Regions from separate parts of the Homo sapiens genome. Here all the other regions are linked to region 3. Evidence: promoter capture Hi-C in human tissues and cell types (Jung and others, 2019). All regions are on one chromosome and are shown on one strand. Each heading gives the region's core, a stretch centred on a gene start or on the middle of the fragment in contact. The rest is flanking DNA. Distances are from core to core; before and after follow the strand shown. Region 1 has its middle 23 kb from the start of LINC01065. Region 2 has its middle 76 kb from the start of OLFM4. Region 3 holds the start of OLFM4 (olfactomedin 4).

Region 1 (3,359 bases), core at 541-3,040, 100 kb after region 3:
AGATGGCAGAGATAAAATAAGTCATGGCAGAACCACTTGGGGTTCCGTGATATTTGTCCTGCTTTGCCCATGACTCAGGAGTTTCCTGGGCTGCAGGATTTTCAGTGCTAAAGCCAGAACGGTTGCTTCCCCTAGTAGGGACATGGACAGCTCTCCAGGAGAGGACTCTGAGCTCCATGACTTCTGGACTCTAGACAGTTCAGAGTTCCTCCCCCAGCCTCAACTGTAGAGGACAATTCAGAGCACAGTCCCTGTTGAATTGTCCAGTGATTGTTCTTTCAAAGAAAGATTACCCCACAGCAGACAGAGTTACATTTGAGAAACTGTTGGAAATATTACACACAGCCAGATTCAGTTCAGCTCATTCAGTTTCACTCAATGTATCAAGCCTACATGACATTTCTATAAACACATGGCACTGAATTAGAGGCTGGGGATACGAAGATGGACAAAGCATAGTCCTGCTCACTAGGGGCTCTGAGTCTAATGGGAAAGATGAAAATGTAAACAAAGGAGCACTTTTCAGTATGAGGGATGCTGTAATAGAAGTGGTAGACAAGGTGTGGGGAATGAACATTAATAAGGAAGTTAATTACCTGAGGTCAAGAAAGGCATTACAGAAAATTGATGCTTCAGTGGAGAGTTTGAAAATGAATTGGTGCTTGCCCACTGGACAGAGAGGAAGAGCACTTCTGGCAAAGCTAAGAACACAGAACAAAAGCACAGAGACAAAAAATGATCTGGTCAAGCAGAAACTTTCTGGTATATTTAGGGAACAACAGGTATGGTCTGAATACAGAGTTTGAGATAGAAAGAATGGTAGGAGAGGAGGATGGAGGCAAGGGGCATGAGAGAGAGGTTGTGAATGGCATTGTATGAAATTGTAGAAATAGCCGTTGGCCACCTACCCAACACTTTTTCCCACTTTGTTAATTCTGTTCACGTGATCCACCCCCACACAGTTGTAGACTTCTTTAAGCCAGTCACAGTGATCTAATTTCTCTTGTCAGTGGCTTGTTTTAAGATTTGTGCAGAGGCAAAAGAGATGCAAAGAGATGTGTGTGTGTTGAGAGTCCTGTAGGAAAAGATGCTCTACTCTCCTGCTAGAAGTTGTCATGTTTGCATCTGAGGCAGCCATCTTGTGACCATGAGGATGGCTGGCTTGAAGACAAGCTGACTTGCTGAGAGTGATAGAGCAGAAAGATGAAAAGCTGCTGGGGCCTTGGAGTCACTTTCCCTTAGGACAGTTTGTTATGTGAAATAAAACGTTTCCTCATTGTTTCATCATTTTGAATAGAGATTTCTGTTAAAGAAGGTTGAAAACACTTAATTAGATGGCATGATGTGTTGCAAAGTTGAGACTTTAGGTGACAGGAGAAAAGGAGTAATGTTGCATGAGTTTTGTTATAGGACATTCACTCTTATTTGTTAGTAGCCATGTTTCTTGCATTTAAATTTTAGATGCAGAAACTCATTCATTCATTCATTCACCTGGACTTTTTTTGAACTTTATATTAAGCACCATCTTAGATGCTGAAGATTCACTGTCAAATAAGATAGGATATCTCTTCTTAGGGGACTTGCAGTTTCTTAGCGGAGAGAGGTAAGTAAATCAATTTCACTGTGGTAGGTGAAGCTGTGGCAGGTGCTTTGATAAAGTTACCCCCAGGGTACTGTAGTCATGCTATAGGGGCTCCTAAGTCAGTTGTATAAATTGTGGAACATTTATCAAGGAGGTGTGATTGGACTGGACCAGTTGAAGACTCCTAAAGCAGTAGTTAGTCATCTGAAGAACTCTCTCTGGGCCTGTGCACCCTCCCATCCTTGACTTACTTGTTTCCACCGTGGTTCCTCTGACTTTAACTCATTTCTGGATGCTGGAGACCTGTTTCGGTGCTGATCCTGTCTCAGCTCTGCTAGATTTAGTTTCTTGCTTTGGTCTCTTGGATTGACTAGTTCATCTATTCTGACTTGCCTTTTCATTGGTTCTAGCTTCTGGAATCTTTCTGGGCAGGTGTTCATCTAGTTTTGATTTCACAGATTTGGGCTTTTTGCTGTCTATTTTTAGACATATTTATTCAGGAATTACCTGCTGAACACTTCTAGCTTGTCTGGGTTCTCCACACCTTGCCTTTCAATGGTCTATACATGGCATTAGTTGTCAGGGCACATAGGTTCAGTGTACTAATAATGAGTGTGGGTCACAGTCATATAGTCGTTTTGGGATTGATGTAGAGGGTCAGATTGGTTCAGAGAACTTTGGAGTAGGTAAAAATTAAACAGAAAATAATTGCCATCTTCCTTCTTGGCATCTTTGTTTTTAGGGGGTTTTGGGGGTCTCAAGACTTTTCAAACATCCAAAGAAGCTATATATGCATAACAGGATAACTTCCCATTTACTACAATTGTTTGCATTATGAATGATGTTGTTTAGTGTGGGGACAGTATTAACGACCTTTTAACATTATGTAAAAAGCCTTTTTCTAGAAGGTAAAAGCTAAAGAATTGTCTGGGGCTTATGCAGCCTTCCTGAGAATTGATTATGTGAAGTATCCCCTGAGGGGTAAGGAATGTGAGAAGGTAGGTGGCTTTTCTGAGGGCCCCTTACAGTTTTAACATAGCTTAATGTTTACCCTCTAGGATCACAGAGCTTGGAATTCAGTAGGTAGCACCAGGTTTGGTGGCTTATGCCTGTAATCCCAGCACTTTGGGAGGCTGAGGCAGGAAGATTGCCTGAGGCCAGGAGTTTAAGACCAGCCTGGGCAACATAGCGAGACCCCATCTCTTAAAAAAAAATTAGCCAGGTATGGTGGCACACACTTGTAGTCTCAGCTACTTGGGAGGCAAGAGGATCTACCTGAGGCAAGAGGATCTCTTGGGACCAGGAGCTCAAGGCTTCAGGGAGCTATGATCATGCCACTGCACTCTAGCACTCCAGCCTGGGTGACAGAGTGAGGCTCTGTCTTTAAGAAAAGAAAGAAAGTCAGTAGGTAGAAAGGTTTAAGGAAAAAGAAGACATAAGAGGTGCATAATATGTGTTTACTACTTTTTAAAAATTAGAGATGCCAAATATTAAGCTTCTTTCAATTACTATATATATTTTCATAAAGAATAACTCTACTGAACTTATGAAAACAATATAGCTCATTATAAAGAAGTCAAGCAGCAAAGAAAGGTACAAAGAAGAAAGCAAAAAAGTCACTCCGTATCCCACTATACAAAAATAACTATCATTAACAAAGGGCAATATCATCCTATGTATCTCTCTCTATAGAAATAAAGACAGGAAAAAAAATACAGAAAAACTGAATTTGGAATATTCTGTAACACAATTTAAAATAAAAAAATTAACTGTACTT
Region 2 (3,044 bases), core at 59-2,558, 77 kb before region 3:
GGCAGGCCATCCTGGCCAGAGATGACAAACCCTGCGCCAAGGATTTTGATTTATTTTTAAGTTCAAATGTGGAGGCCTTCCCTTGGGTTATGTTTTTTCTATTTCTCCGCAGCCCCATGATTCCTTATCATTTCACAACTACCCGCTTAAATCAGTTATGTTACCTGTGAGCCTTGAGGTGGATACTTCTGAGTGTATTGAGCCCCCACTCATTGCCCTCACTTTAGAGATTAGGAAGCTGAGGCTCAAAGAGGTGGCATAACTTTCTTAATATGTTCAATCTCCAAGGTGTATTGGCTTTTTTAAGTATGGGAGCCGTAGGGGAAACTTTGAGGAATAAATCTCAGATGGCGGGGAGCTGCCCAGGATCACATCGTTTGTCTGCTGGCTGGACTCTCTAAGCAATTTTTTCATGGTTTCCCTAACTGTAAAATGCGGGCATGGGACTCCTTCACTTCAGATATTCCTTCTGGTTTCTTCATTCTCTGATTCCTTCTCTAGAGAAGTTGGGGAGATTCCACTGACAAAGGTTAATTGTTAGAATCTCTCAGGAATTCACACCTTAGCAAAGTGTGTACACCGTAAACAACTGGATCAAAGCAGATTAGAATCATTTTCCCACTTGTCTGATAGTTAATACCTGAGAAACTGATTGGATTGCTATATGATCCCTCTAATTTAGATAAGATGGCCTAAACAATTAGATCGACCCTACAGTAGTCACTAAATTGAATCAGCACTGGCATCTCATTTTGGCTCTGTTATCACCACGTGATCACACGATTTGTAGACAGGTGTCTATTGCCCTAAATTCTGCATTATAGGTGTGTCATAAAAAATATGGCTGACCTCTATCTTTGGTTCCAGGAAGGTAGTCTCTAAACTTTTGGAATTTCTCATTTTTTTTTAAGAGAGTGTCTTTGTTATTCACAGTAGGCTCCCTTGACCACACCTGATAGTTTATGGTAATGAAGTGACTCAAGGTGGGCCTCTAGAGAGTTTATGCTAAGGAGATAACCCAGGATGTGGGCTGACCATGCCAGAAAGACCAAACATGTGATTAGAAAGTTGGAGTTTTGGGTCAGCAGTATTAGCTCAACTTCTGGGAAGGGATGAGGGGGAAAAAATGAGTTCAGTCATATGGCTATGATTCAGTTAATCATGCCTATGTAATTAAACCCCCAAAAAAGTCTGGTCACCAAAGCTTGGGTGAGCTTCCCTGTTTGGCAGTGTGAACACAAATTGACACACATAGATGTTCTAGGAGGACAAAGCTTTGGGTTTGAGACCCTCCCAGACCTCATGTTTCTCTGCCTTTGGCTGGTTCTGATTTGTGTCTTTTTGCTATAATAAAACTATAATCATAAGTGAAGGCTGGGCTTGGTGGCTCACACCTGAAATGCCAGCACTTTGGGAGGCTGAAGCAGGGAGATAACTTAAGGCCAGAAGTTTGAGACCAGCCTGGCCAACATGGTGAAACCCCATCCCTACTGAAAATACAAATATTAACTGGGCGTGTTGGCATACACCTGTAATCCCAGCCACCTGGGAGGCTGAGGCATGAGAACTGCTTGAACCGGGGAGACGGAGGTTGCAGTGAGCCAAGATCTCACCATTGCACTCCAGTCTGGGCAGCAGAGTGAGACTCTGTCTCTTAAAAAAATAAATAAATAAGTGAAGTGCTTTCCTGAATACTGTGGGTCATGCTAGCAAATTTTTGAACCTGAGTGGTGAGTGAGAGGCCTTGAATTTGTAGCCAGCTGGTCAGAAGTGGGGGTACCCTGAACTTGCAGCTAGTATCTGATAAAAGGACAGTCTTGTAGAGGACTGTGTCCTTAACCTATGAAGTCGGGCCCAATTCCAGGTAGTAGGGGAAAAAAAAAGGTAAGAAATAAGAGCTTACGTGGAGAGGGGCTGGTAGGTGATGTTAGCAGCAGCAGCGAATCCATATGGGTCTGCAGCAACCTCAGTTCTTCCTTGTCAGAAGAAAGAATTCGACTGAGAGGCATAAGGCAGAAGGAGAGACTAAGGCAAGTTTTAGAGCAGGAGTGAAAGTTTATTAAAAAGCTTTAGAGCAGGAATGAAAGGAAGGAAAGTACACTTGGAAGAAGGCCAAGTGAGTGACTTGGGAGATCAAGTGCATAGTTTGCTCTTTGACTTGGGGTTTCATATGTTGGCCTGCTTCCAGGATTGCATCCCTCCTCCCCGGATTCTTCCCTTGGGGTGGACTGTCCACATGCATAGTGGCCTGCTAGTGCTTGGGAGGGGAGCATGCACAGTGTGTTTACTGGAGTTGTGCACATGCTCACTTGAGGCATTCTTCCCTTACCAGCCAAATGTCCCTAGGAGGTCATATACCAGTTAAATGCCCCCACTTCGCTTCTTAATGTGCATGTTTGAGCCCACTCACCCAGCTCCTGAGGTCCTATCAGGAAGCTGTTGATCACTAGTTTCAGGTGTTCCTGTGTATTGGGAGACTGCTTTTCCCTGGCACTGTCTGTGACCAATGATTATTTTAGAGACAGCTTAACAACCTCCTGAACATCACCTGATGGTTGCCTGACATTCCTGGGGGAATGTTGGAGTGGGAGTGGGGGGAAGCCCTGTCCTGCTCTGCTCATGTCTGATTAGCTACCTCTGTAACAGAGAGAAGAAATTCTAAGAAGGCTCCAGGACTATGCCTTCCACATATCCAGGACGTGGTTTCCCATATGTCTGTGGGCTCTCCTCTCTGCTCTCTTCACCCCATCCTGGGCCCTAGTTCTCCATTCTGGAAAAAGCCACAGATTCTTTGGGGAGATGGTCTGATTAATAGCTCATGGTCTGATTAATAGCTTTCAGGATGAGCAAAATATTGATCCAGAGTGTGGGCTCTGGAGCAGACTGCATGGGTTCAAATCCTGGCATTACTCTTAATCATCTGTGTGACTCTAAGGAGAATCACTTAAGCTCTCTGTCTGTTTTGTCATCTAGAAAATGGGGATAATAACAACCCTTGCCTCACGAATTAAACGAGCAGTTACATACAAAGCGCTTAAAAATTG
Region 3 (3,312 bases), core at 446-2,945:
TTCTCCCTATCTGTTCTTCTTCACTCTCTATCCATCCATTTGTGGTTTTCCTGTCTCCCCTTCCCCCTCCCCACCACCCCAGTTTCTGAATAGTGTACCAGGGGTTTAAGACCCTGTTTCTCACATTAGCACTGTGCTTATTCTGAGAGTTTGTGTGGAGCTTCTGGGGTGGGGTGGAGTGGGGCATGAACCTTCTCTCCTTGTTTTGAACCCAGCAATCTTACATATTGATCTAGTCTTTAGGAAATTAAACAAACAATGAAAAAGCTGACATTTTTATGGCACGTCAAAAGTCATAAGCAACTTCCCATACAATATTTCATTTAATTCAAACAATTTAGGAATTGTTACAACCCTAGAGGGGCTAAGTGACATGCTCAAGGCCACCGACTCATTGTGACACAGCTTTTTTGTTTGTTTTTGTTCTTTTGAGACAGCCTTACTCTGTCACCCATGCTGCAGTGCAGTGGTGTGAACATGGCTCACTACAGCCGCAACCTCCCAGGCTCAGGTGATCCTCCCACCTCAGCTTCCCAAGTAGCTGGGACCACAGGTGCATACCGCCACACTTGGCTATTTTTTTCATTTTTTGTAGAGACAGGGTCTCACCACATTGCCCAGGATGGTCTCCAACTCTTGAGCTCAAGCCATCCTCCCACCTTGGCCTCCCAAAGTGCTGGGATTACAGGTGCGAGCCAGCATCCCCGGCCCAGAGCTGGGTCTTAATACCGAGACTAACACCTTTTTCTTTCTCCAGGGAAGAAGGCAGAGGTCACAAAGGTGTGTGAAATGTTGAGCAGGGCAAATGGATCCTGGAGCCCAGGGTCAGAGCTGCTGAGCAAGAGAAAATGCATCTTATTTCTCAGTTTTATGAAGAATAAGCTTGAGATCTTGAATGCCTGGCTGGCTCACAAGAAGCTCAGGGGCAATAGAGGTCAAAGTTTTCTGGAGAGAGAAACTGCTCCTGGGGTCCTCCTTGACTGGGTTTGAGGCAGTGCCCTGGCCTGGGAGAGCGGGCACTGGGTCATCGGGATCCCTTTGTTTATTTGGGTGTTTTCTCTTCCCTATATGAAGCATACAGTGGTGAGTACTTGATAGGGCAGAGTCCTACCTGGTTGGCCAGGGAACAAAACGTTGCTGGTCTTTCCTTCAGAGTGGGGTTGTTAGACAACTTTGTCTAGAAACAGTCACTGTAAGGAACAGGTCAACGACAACTTGGGCAATAGGAACTGAAGAGGGAAGCTCAGTCGCTCCTGGAGGAGAGCCACAGTCCCTAAGGCAAGTTCCCTAACTGTCTGTGAAAAGTAGTATTCAGTAAAATGGGGGAGAGCACTAGAAGTGCTGTGAGGCAAAGGACTGAGGGTTGCTTTTCCTCCATGGAGCCTCCAAACTCTGTGTCATCCACAAAGACTACTTTGGTCTCATCTCTTTCAAGGAAGTACCAAGTGGGAAACCAAATATTGGGCTTTACAAAGCACATTTGAGTTAATGTTTGGCAGGGGATATCTGGATCCAAGGGCAGCTCACAGAGTGGGCCTCACTGACAAGGTGTGGGCCATGACTCAGATTCCTGGGTGTCCTGAACCTCCTGGGGCAGTTCACACGTTCCCTGGCCACTCCCTCTTTTCCTACATGCTGGCCATGGGGAAATCACCACTGGGCACTATAAGAAGCCCCTGGGCTCTCTGCAGAGCCAGCGGCTCCAGCTAAGAGGACAAGATGAGGCCCGGCCTCTCATTTCTCCTAGCCCTTCTGTTCTTCCTTGGCCAAGCTGCAGGGGATTTGGGGGATGTGGGACCTCCAATTCCCAGCCCCGGCTTCAGCTCTTTCCCAGGTGTTGACTCCAGCTCCAGCTTCAGCTCCAGCTCCAGGTCGGGCTCCAGCTCCAGCCGCAGCTTAGGCAGCGGAGGTTCTGTGTCCCAGGTGAGGAGGCCCCAGAATCTGAATGAGCTGCATTCATTCCCTTCCATTTGCTTTTGGGTACCTGAATACAATTTCATGGATGGCTAGACCTGGGCACTCTAAAAGATTTACGACTCATTTTGTTAACTATAGGTGCCCCGGAAATGAATTAAAGCCTCAGTAAAATAATTAAATTGTTAGCAAGAGAGACGATATCGCAGTTCTCCAGCTGGGACTTTTGGGAATATCTATGCTTTAGAGGAATTCTCAAATCTGGCTGCACATTAGAATGGGTGGCCGGGGGGACTCTAAAAGTACAGATGCCTGGGTTCTGTACTTAAAAAAATCCTACATAGATGTATACAAATCAAATATTTTAAAAAACCTCTCCCCAGGTGATTCTAATATATAGTCCAAGATGGGAACTGTTAGGGAAAGACTCTGTGAGTTGCAGCTCTGGGAAGTTTGTCCAGTTGTTTTGCTGCCTGGCAGGATCCCGGAATGGTGAACAGTAGCCCTCGAGGGAGTGAGAGCCGCAGTGCCCTAGTTGAAGCCCTGACCATTTCTCTTGGCCTGGTTTATAAAGGAGGTGGGTGTCAGAAATAAGGGGGGAGTTACTGGTCTTTAGCAAAGTGTTATTACCAGTGGACATTCGCCTAGGGGAGTGTTCACTCTTTGCAGTCTTCTTTACAGGGAATCTTCAGGACCATTTCCAGCTCCAAACAACAGTAGCAACAAACAAACAAAACCAAAAGTCATGCATTACAACGAGGCTGGTACAGCTAGGCTAAGTGCATTGAAGGCATAGTAAGCCAGTTCCGTGGGGGATGAGTCCTCTTTGGATCTCCTTTAAAGAAAGGAGAATGGGCTGGAGGGCATGAGAGGTTAGGAGGTAAGAAGCAGTTATTCATTTCACTCTGGGCCTTTCTGCGGGAACCCCACTCTGCAAACCTCCTAGGCTATTTTTGCTAAGGTATAACTTGGGGTGGGGGAGTCTTATCTGGGCCAAAGCTTCTCTCTCTAAGCCTCTAGGATCTTTCCTCACAGGTCAGGTAGCTGCTTACATTATCATGCTTGAATGGAAGGGCAAATGGGAGAAGGGGGAGGAAAAGACTTTTATTTGTTTTATTTTGACCATCAGAAATTACAGATAATAAAAATGTGATAATTAACAAATGATTTGGATAGGGCCTAGATAGAAACAGCAGCAATAACATTTACTGTGTGTCTAATAAATGCCAGGACTAGGTTAAGTACATAATATATATCTTTTTGTTGTTGTTGTTGTTTGTTTGTTTTTTGAGACAGAGTCTCATTCTGTCACCCAGGCTGGAGTGCAGTGGCACGATCTCGGCTCACTGCAACCTCCGCCTACCAGGTTCAAGCGATTGTCCCACCTCAGCCTCCTGA

What was found. The method cuts DNA at HindIII sites, captures the fragments that hold promoters and counts their contacts. A contact is called where the count stands out against the background at its distance.
Region 1: a contact is called between a fragment that was not itself captured here and the fragment with the promoter of OLFM4 in region 3, in 5 of the 25 tissues and cell types used here (bladder, dorsolateral prefrontal cortex, heart right ventricle and 2 more).
Region 2: a contact is called between a fragment that was not itself captured here and the fragment with the promoter of OLFM4 in region 3, in 6 of the 25 tissues and cell types used here (H1 embryonic stem cells, mesenchymal stem cells, mesendoderm cells and 3 more).

What each region holds. Positions count from the first base shown.
Region 1 is chr13:53,127,441-53,130,799 of GRCh38, forward strand. No RefSeq gene overlaps it. Among named protein-coding and RNA genes, the nearest start is that of LINC01065, 23 kb to the right of the region's middle. The HindIII fragment of the contact is 6,212 bases long and covers 1-3,359 here.
Region 2 is chr13:52,950,826-52,953,869 of GRCh38, forward strand. No RefSeq gene overlaps it. Among named protein-coding and RNA genes, the nearest start is that of OLFM4, 76 kb to the right of the region's middle. The HindIII fragment of the contact is 4,414 bases long and covers 1-3,044 here.
Region 3 is chr13:53,027,118-53,030,429 of GRCh38, forward strand. OLFM4 (olfactomedin 4) reads left to right here and starts at 1,696. Exons shown (of 5, transcript NM_006418.5): 1 at 1,696-1,923. The coding sequence starts at 1,720. The HindIII fragment of the contact is 5,150 bases long and covers 178-3,312 here.